Regions from separate parts of the Homo sapiens genome. Here region 2 is linked to region 1. The links are contacts of gene promoters, found by promoter capture Hi-C in blood cells and fetal thymus (Javierre and others, 2016). All regions are on one chromosome and are shown on one strand. Each heading gives the region's core, a stretch centred on a gene start or on the middle of the fragment in contact. The rest is flanking DNA. Distances are from core to core; before and after follow the strand shown. Region 1 has its middle 2.6 kb from the start of TRP-AGG2-4. Region 2 holds the start of EMSY-DT (EMSY divergent transcript).

Region 1 (4,380 bases), core at 1,103-3,602:
CGCGTTCCAAACATCACATCATCATCATCGTCATCATGACTGCGCAGCCTGGGTCTTGGGGTTCCTGGATGTCTAGCTTTGTGGGAGGGTAACTGACATTGTGAGGCTTTGGCCTGACATTTCGGTCAGGGCTGGGTCAGATGTGCAGTTTCTCGGTTTAGCTACCGAATCCTGGGCGGAACCCACCGACTCTGGTTCACCGAATGGGCCTCCCAGCACGTGGGGCGCCTGGCACGGTTTCCCGTGCTTCGCCTCTGCGTCCACGGTCCATGGGTTCTAGGCTCCCCGAGAAGCCTCTGTGGGGAACAGGGGTGCCAGACCCACTCCGAGAAACGGGTTCCATGGAGCTCTTCCACCTCGTGACTCAGTGTCCTTGGGACACGTAGCCAATGTGTTCAGCATGCCCCCCTGGTGAAAACGGGGTCACAAGGTCTGCCTTCTTGCCTGCCAGAGAGAATTGGGAGCTCCCCACCACCGCGCCCTGTCCCCCGTAGGAGAGCGGAAGGTAGTGGCTGTGCTGGCCTCCATCACAAGGCTACTAGCAGTGCAGAGCCAGCGGTGCAGATCAGTCCAGCCAATTTCCGTTGCGCTCTCTCTCCCTCCCCACCCCTTTCCACCCCCCACACACCCTGACTTCAAGATGAGGAAACTGAGACTGTGACGCCCTGGAAGGACTTTTGCCCAGTGGCCCTTTTCCAAACTCCTTTCAGCTATGTCCTGCGCCTTCAGGAGCTGGCTGGAGCCTCACGTTTCCTTATTCCCAGGTCTGAGGATGTGCGGGCAGGAAGAAATACCTTCAGTCAGTCGCTGGAAGCCTTTGTAAAGCTTCTTTCACTCCACAACACACTTCCACTGGCGCCTGCTCTGCCCCACCCCCGGGCTGGGCCCTGGGGACACTGATGAGTCAACCCTGCCTCCTGAACCCCCTGCCCAGTGGTTGCCACACTGGCTGCACCCTCTGCCTAGCCCAAGGCTGTGGACTGGTCTGCAAGGAGCTCAGTCTGGGCCCTGGCGGACTGTGGTTACTGCTAAATGAGGCTATGGCCTGGACACACACCCAGGACCTTACATCCTCTGCCCGGGCCTTCTGTGCCTCCAGACAGGCCTTCCCCATGGACAGTCCCACACCCACAGTCTCTTCAAACCCTGCGGTGGCTCCACCCTGGGAGCAATGGCTGAGCTCTTTACCTGCCACCTGGGCTTTCTGAGGCCTGACCCCTCCCCACTCACCTCTCTTCAGGCCCTCCTCACTCCGTGAACACTCCAGCCATGGCTCCAGTGGAAGCTGCTCATTCCAGCTGGGGCTGCCCCCAGCTTCCTGCACATTCCAGGCCTTGCGGTTTCTGCACCACCACCTCCACCTCCAGGCAGACACCTCTCCAAGTGCCCCCAGCCCCTGCACTCCCTGTTGCCTGGATGCCTGACCCCTGCACACATCTGTGTCTCTACCCACAAGAGTGTGAGGGAGGGTTCCCTGAGGAGTGGCCATGTCAGCACAGGGCCCAATGCAGATGACCTGTAAAGCGTTTGTTGAATGAGTGGTACTTTGTCTTTCTGTAAAACCCAAAGCCAAAAAAAGACACCGTAACAGCTCAAAGCCTGGCGTGAGTCAGAGGTTCAAGGCTTGCTTGCCCCCTCCATTGGCACAAAATGCCTGTCAGCCAAGAAACTTCTTAGGGAGGTGGTGGGATTCTTTGGTCCCTCTGCCAGAGCTGGGACCCTTGGAGATGACCTCACTAGCCAGTGGGGTAGCAGGGCAGGAAGGGCTCCAGTAGGTGAGAAGGTGACTTTCCAACCAGAAAAGTTCTGGCTAAGAGGCCTGCGTGGAGCAAGTAGGCTCAAGAATGTCAGGGAGGCAGGGCACGGGGTGGCTCACGCCAAGGCGGGCAGATCACTTGAGGTCAGGAGTTTGAGACCAGCCTGGCCAACATGGCGAAACCCCATCTCTACTAAAACTACAAAATTAGCCAGGTGTGATGGCATGCCTTTAATCCCAGCTACTTGGGAGGCTGAGGCATGAGAATCGTTTGAACCTGGGAGGCGGAGATCGCGCCACTGCACTCCAGCCAGCCTGGGTGACAGAGTGAGACCCTGCCTCAAAAAAAAAAAAAAAAGAATGTCAGGGCACAGAGGCCAGAGTATGCAGGACCACCCTAGGGGGGCAGGAGGGCTGCATGTGCCTCTCCCCAGAGTTTGCTGAAAGGAAAGGGGTGTGTGTGTTGGGGGGCGTGTGGGGGGCTTGGGGTCAAGGAGAGGGGGTTGTCTGTCTGCCTGCTGAGCCAGGAGGTGGGATATTGGAACCATCAGGCCTGAAGACCACTCCTCCAGGCATCTCTGAGCGGCTGAGGGGTCCCTGAGTAGATGGTGTGATCTAAATATTTAGGCCCCTCGCTCTTCTCTTTCCACTCTGGGAGGACCCAAGCCTCCACAGATGCAGGGTTATGATGGATACCACGTGCTTGACAGTGCTGGAGAAGAGGCCTGGACCTGGCCAAGCAGGGGAACTTGGAGCAGAGGGGAAGGGGCAGGGAGACAGGGAGGAGGGGAGAGGGTGGTCTTCCTCTACACACACCCTTATTTATACTGTTCTTCCTGCAGGCAGCCCCGCGCGGGGGCAAGGGGTGACACATAGAGAGAGAAGGGCCCACGGGTTCCCAAGGTGCCCCGGGTCCAGGGGGCTGTGATGCAGAGAGGAGAGGGTGAATGGGGTGGAATGGAAGGAGGGGAGAGAGCTGGGAGCTGAGGTGAGAGCAGGGCGGGGCCAGGGGAGAATGAAAACCCAGCCTGTTGGTGGTTTCTTCTTTTTTTCTTAAGAGCCACAGGCTGAGATCAAAGGTGATATTTTTACAGCAACTGAAATAGAAAACCACTGGGCGCACAGTGGGAGGTGAGCAGCCAGCACACAGGCCCCTTTATGCAGCCTGTGGCCACAGCAAGCACGCTGCCCTCTGCCATGGGGTGTGGGGGACAGTGTGGTGGGGATCTTCCCAATTCAGGTTCAGAGAAGATGTGAAGGGGATGAGCCACAACCCTCGGGGCTGAGAGAGGAGAGAGAGAGCCATGAAGGATCACTAGAGTCCAACATCCTTTCTGCTCCGTGCATTCACTCACCTGCTCACTCACCGGATCATGTATGGAACTAGCTGGCCCCCGCATACCAGGAGCCATACCCAGGCCCACCACAGCAGTGGGTCTCCGAGTGTGGGCCCCACACCAGCAGCTTCAGCGTGACCTGGAACATGCTAGAAATGCACATTCTCAGGCCCCAACCCAGACTTAATGCTCCAGTGGGCCCAGCCCTTAGGATTTTAACAAACTCTCCATGTGACTCTGCACACTCAGTTGGAGAATCACTGTGCTGCATGACCTCAGTTTCCACATTGCTACTTTGGGAAAAACAACACGTGTCTCACAAGGTCGAGCCCAGTGTTAGCTAACACACGTGCTAGATGCACCCCCTGTGCCAGGCATCCTTCTAATCCCTTTATAACGCACCTAACTCTACACCAACTCTGAGATAGGAACTAATATTATCCTCATTTATTTCCTCAGATGAGGAAATGCAGGCACAGAGAGGCACAGTAACTTGGCCAGGGTCACACAGCTAGTAGGTAGCAGAGCTTTGGCATCCACGCTTTTTAAAGCTCCCCGACAAAAAGCCTCTGGCAGTGAGTCTGGCTCCCAGAATGTGTTCTGGGCATGGCTGAGAATGTGATGATGACAGTTAGCATTACCTCACCTGAACTTGTGATGATGATCCCCATTTTGTAGATGTGAAATCTGCTGCCTTGTCAAGATCAGGGAGTAAGTCAGCTGCAGAGGCAGCCTGAGTGTCTGAAACCCATGTGGCCACAGGCCCTCACCATTCACAAAGCTTGGAGATCACAATATATACCATTCTGGTCTTCTAGAAACATCCCAGCATGTTGCAGGTGGAGTGTGGGCTCTGACAGAGGTGGGCTGGAACCCTAGTTTGGCCACTCAGGGGCTGTGTAACCTTGAGCAAATCATCTCCCCTCTCTGAGCCTCTGTTTCCTCCTGTGAAGTGCTTGGTGACAGTCCTCACCTCAGGAACTTTGTGGGGTTCCTGTGAGGGTTGGAGAAGATGACATTTGTACCCAGCCCAGAGTGTGCGTGATTGGCTATCAGAAAGCAGCTTGTCCCTCTCTCTTCCCCCTTCCTGCTGCTACCTTGGTAGAAACACCAGCTCAGGACCCAGAAAAGTCCTGGGAGAAGAAGAACTAAGTTCCCAAGTGATGGAAATGCATCTGTCCTCCAGCTTGTCTGTCCTTTTCCGGATCTTGAAACAACTGCCCTGGCTGGGGTTTGGGGGTTAAACACTGGCACCTGCTGTGCCCAGTGCAAGTCAGGAGTGGGGTA
Region 2 (4,291 bases), core at 960-3,459, 210 kb before region 1:
AAAAAAAAAAGTCAAATTACCAAAGTACCAAAGTACATTCAAGGGGCCACTCACCTGGAGATCCAGTCACAGGCTAAGAAGTAAACCAAAAAGATATTACTATTTTACAATCCTTTCTCACCACCACACTTTCCAACTTTTGAGAAATCAAGAATTAAGTCATTTGAACTATCACAGTGGAAAGAACACAGGCTTTAGAGCCAGACACCTCTAGGTTTCTAGTCCCAACTTTTCAACTTACTGGTTAAGCCTAAGCTTTACACATCTATAAAACAGAGGTAATACCACCCAGTTTGTTACGCGTATTAAAGAACACTATATATAAAGTTCTTTCATAGTGGCTGGCATTTCATTTAATAAACAGGTGGTACTACCAACCTGGGGCAAGTTGACTCCTGTCAGCTTCCTCATTTATGAATTACATGAGATAAAATTTGTAAAGCTCCTAGCAAGTTAAAGAAACTTAATAAATAACTCCTCGTGCTCGCTTCAGCAACACATATACTAAAATTGGAACGATACATACATATATATATATACACATATATATATACATATATATATACACACACACACATATATATATACTCTCTCAAGTCTTAATGGAATATGAATTTTGATCCTGTAGTTATTAAACAGCCATTTACCAACAGTTGAGCTGCCAGGAACTTACTTAGAACTGGGAATTTCCTAGTGTAAAAGACAAAAAGACACGGCTCTGGGGGCACGCGCAATACCTGCTTAGCACAGAGTAGAGCCGCTCTAAGTATTTGTTAAATGGGTAAGTGAATGGTTGACGCGACTGAGCAAAACGAATGGATGAATGAATGAATGAACGAGCTCACTGTCTAGCCTAGAAGTCAGACACCGAACCGAAATAACTGCTATATCCCGTTCCAGGCGCTGGGGCTGCTAACTCCAACTCTGTGTCCCGAGGTGAGCCCCCCTCCCCCTACTTCCCATAGTCCTCTCAGCTCAGAACAAACCCAAGGCAAGAAGAACTGGACTGCGCGCCCCAGCCGGCAGTATGACATAAAGAAAAGGGGTGGGGAGGAGGAAGAAGGGGCAGAGCCAAAGGAATCCTCTCCCTCCACAAGCCAGTCCCCGCCTCCCGACAGGATCTTGGAGGCGGCCGGCGACTGCTCGAACCGAGCACCACGTCACGGCATCCCGGCGCGTCCTAGCCAGGGGACCCCAGAGCGGGGCCGCAACGCATCGGAAACCCGGGCAGTAGTTTCCGGAGCCCGCTCGGGGAACCAGGATCTTGTAGGATCCTTCCCCACTCAAGTGTCAAGGAGACAAGCCCGCCCCGCCCCCTCTCCAAACACGCACTCCCTAGCAGCACCACAACAAGAGCAGCCAGCCCAGGCTCCTCACCCGGACCTCTCGGCGCCGGTCCCAATGTCAAGTCCACGACCCAAGCCCCTCTGGGCCAGTAGCTGTTGTCAGGGGTCCCGGCCGGCACCCGCGCCTCACTCCCTCCCCAGCGGAGAGGACAACCGAGAGAGAGTAAGCCAGCGGATACCCAGCCAGACGACCTGGACTCACCGGGAGTCTCCCAGAGCTAAACCCCCAGAGTCCCAGCACCAGGCCAGCCAGAGTCCCCCTGAGTCCACCCCGGGGAGCCCCACGATCCCGTTAGGAAACAACGGAGGATGGGGCTGGGAGCCCCAAGCCGGGCTCCGAATGCTTGGCCCGGCGCTCCTCTAGCCTGGCTGGCCTGCCAGCTCTTCCCAGGACCCTGCCTGAGAGTCACCCACCTGCCCGGCCTTTCGGGGCTCATCTAAAAGGCTCCTCCGCCAAGACTAGGGGACACCAGGAATTGGGTTTGTTTGCGGTGCCTCTGAAGGGGCAAGATGGCGACAGGTAACAGGGCGCAGGCGCAGCCGCGCGCGGCCAGTCGGGAGGTGTAGTTCGCTTTTCCCGCCTTTCGGAGAACAAACACCAAAAGGCCTCCATTCATCTTGTCCTTCTTTTCCTCCGCGTTATGAAAGAAAAGGACAGACATCGCGGAGGGTGCTGGGAGTTGTGGTCCGAATCCAAACTCCAACCTCTTTCGCTCCAGGTTTGCTGTCGTACGCGCAAGGAAGGCCGGGATTGTAGTTCCCTTGGTTTCTCCTGCATACCCTCCTGTCTCTGGCTTCGCGCGCCTCTCCTGGGCTGCCGTCTCCCAGCCAATCGGCTGCGCTCTCTGCTACGTGTGGCGTCACACGTAGCGGCCAAGATGGCGCTAGCGGTTGGAGCAGGGGCTCTGCTGCGACCTTTACGGTAGTGAGGTTAGGGACGATGGGAGAGCAGCTTTGTTCCTGAAGTGCCGTCGAGGATTAGGATCGAGTTTCTTCGATCGTGAGGGCAATTATTAGTGGCCTCTAGCCCCCCAGATGGCATCTTGAGGAGAGAGAATCCACGCTACGAGAACTAACATAGTGGACATCGCAGTTGTCCGTAGCCGATTTGCGGGTTACGGAGTTGTTGCAAGTAAAGAAGGGGAAATCCGAGCGTTCTCGCGTTGGATTTCCTCCACGTGTGAAGTGGGAATGGTAGTGATATCTCGTGCTATCTCTGTCAAGGGCAAGAAGGAGAAGGAATTTATTTGAGGCCCTACGACGTGGTAGGTTCACCCTCAGCCTTTGTTCTTATTTCATCTTATTTGTGGAGAAGGTCTTTTCGTTCCTATTTTACAGGTGAGAAAAGGGGCCCAATATATAGTTATTTGCGGCCATAAAATAGAAGCCAGTTGCCTGATACTGAAGATTCAATGAAATCTTGTGATTGACTTCCCTCTTTAAATTTTGTACTTTGGGTAACATCGGATCCGGTAGAAACGCTCGTCAGAAAGAGTTTTTAATGTGCATTCTACAATTTCCAGACATAGTTTCCTTCTTGAAAAATTGGGTTAATACTACCCTATAGGGATCTTGTGATGCACCACGTAAACGTTGTAAGTTGTGAACCACTATACAAACGTATGAGACTCTTCATGTTCTTGAGTGGAACTGTAGGTTAGGAAGAGAAGGTAAATAACAGCATTTAAGTTTCCTACTACTATTTGCCCATTAGCTAAAAATACCCTCCGAGGTCTAGGAAAGTCACTGTTGTTGAAACCCAACCTACACCTTCAGAAAATCGTAAAGTGGAACATATTAATCACCAGGCCCTCCCTCCGCTGTCTCCCTGACCTTCCTATGCATCCAGTTGCTTAAGAACTCTTGGAAAGATAGTAAGTGAAATCTTCATAGAGGATTTTTGTACTTTAACATATATTATTTGATTTGAGCCTCGCAACATTTCAGTGTGACAGGTACGATTAAGGTCTTTCATACTATGAATGAGAAAAACATAGATGTACCAAGGACTCACCAAATTTCACGGAGCTAGGAATTGGAAGAGAGCTAGGCTTTGTAATCCCAGGTCTTCTGACCTCCAAATGTCCTTTCCTCTACAGTGAATGTCAAAATGACAATGAATGTCTACTCCTCTACAATGGAGTACAAATCGAAAGACAAGGGGCTTATAAAACTGACTCTGACCTTAAGAAGTAGCATATGAGTGATGAATTATTATAGTCAATCCTTGTGCTTACTAAGTGCCACATACTGGTCTAAGCATTTTACATAGTAATTCAGTCCTTAGAACAACTTTATGAGGTGGAAACTTTTATTATCTCTAATTACAAAGGAGGCAACTAAAGTCTAGGAAAGAAGCAAAATAGCTTGCCTAAAGTCACACATAAGTAAATGGTGGCTCACGCCTGTAAACCCAGCACTTTGGGAGGCTGAGGCAAGTGGATCATTTGAGGTCAGGAGTTCAAGACCAGCCTGGCCAACATGGTGAAAGCCCACCTCTACTAAAAATACAAAAATTAGCTGGGCATGGTGGCATGTGCCTGTAATCCCAGCTACTCGGGAGGCTGAGACAGGAGAATTGCTTGAACCAGGGAGGTGGAGGTTGCAGTGAGCCAAGATCGCTCTACTGCATTCCAGCGTGGGCAACAGAGCAAGACTCCATCTTAAAAAAAAAAAAAAAAAAAAAAGCTAAAGCTGGGATTTAAACCTGATTATGTTGGCTCCAGAGCCTATGCTCTAGACCAGTGGTTCTAAACTTTAATGGTCAATAGGAACCGCTTGAGGATCTTGTTAAAACGCAAATATTGGTAGTATAGATATCAGGTAAGGCCTGGATCCTATAGTCTTAACAGGCCCCCAGGTGATGTTGATGGTGCTGGTCATTACATACTACAGTTCACATCTTCCCTTTTCTCCTAACCGTATTTATTTTGCAGTCAGAAACT

Evidence for each region. Contacts are between HindIII fragments. The CHiCAGO score rates a contact against its expected background, and 5 or more counts as called.
Region 2: the fragment with the promoter of EMSY-DT here is called in contact with a fragment that was not itself captured in region 1 in 1 of 17 cell types (total CD8 T cells); the score reaches 5.7 in total CD8 T cells.

Annotation. Positions count from the first base shown.
Region 1 is chr11:76,230,745-76,235,124 of GRCh38, reverse strand. No RefSeq gene overlaps it. Among named protein-coding and RNA genes, the nearest start is that of TRP-AGG2-4, 2.6 kb to the left of the region's middle. RefSeq lists enhancers at 1-92, 93-639, 1,187-1,733. The HindIII fragment of the contact is 3,049 bases long and covers 828-3,876 here.
Region 2 is chr11:76,442,598-76,446,888 of GRCh38, reverse strand. It overlaps EMSY-DT (EMSY divergent transcript), which reads left to right and starts at 2,209. Exons shown (of 2, transcript NR_186348.1): 1 at 2,209-2,611. EMSY (EMSY transcriptional repressor, BRCA2 interacting) reads right to left here and starts at 1,871. Exons shown (of 22, transcript NM_001300942.2): 1 at 1,761-1,871. RefSeq lists enhancers at 870-1,164, 1,304-1,373, 1,414-1,463, 1,664-1,893, 1,594-2,230 and 1 more. The HindIII fragment of the contact is 4,130 bases long and covers 258-4,291 here.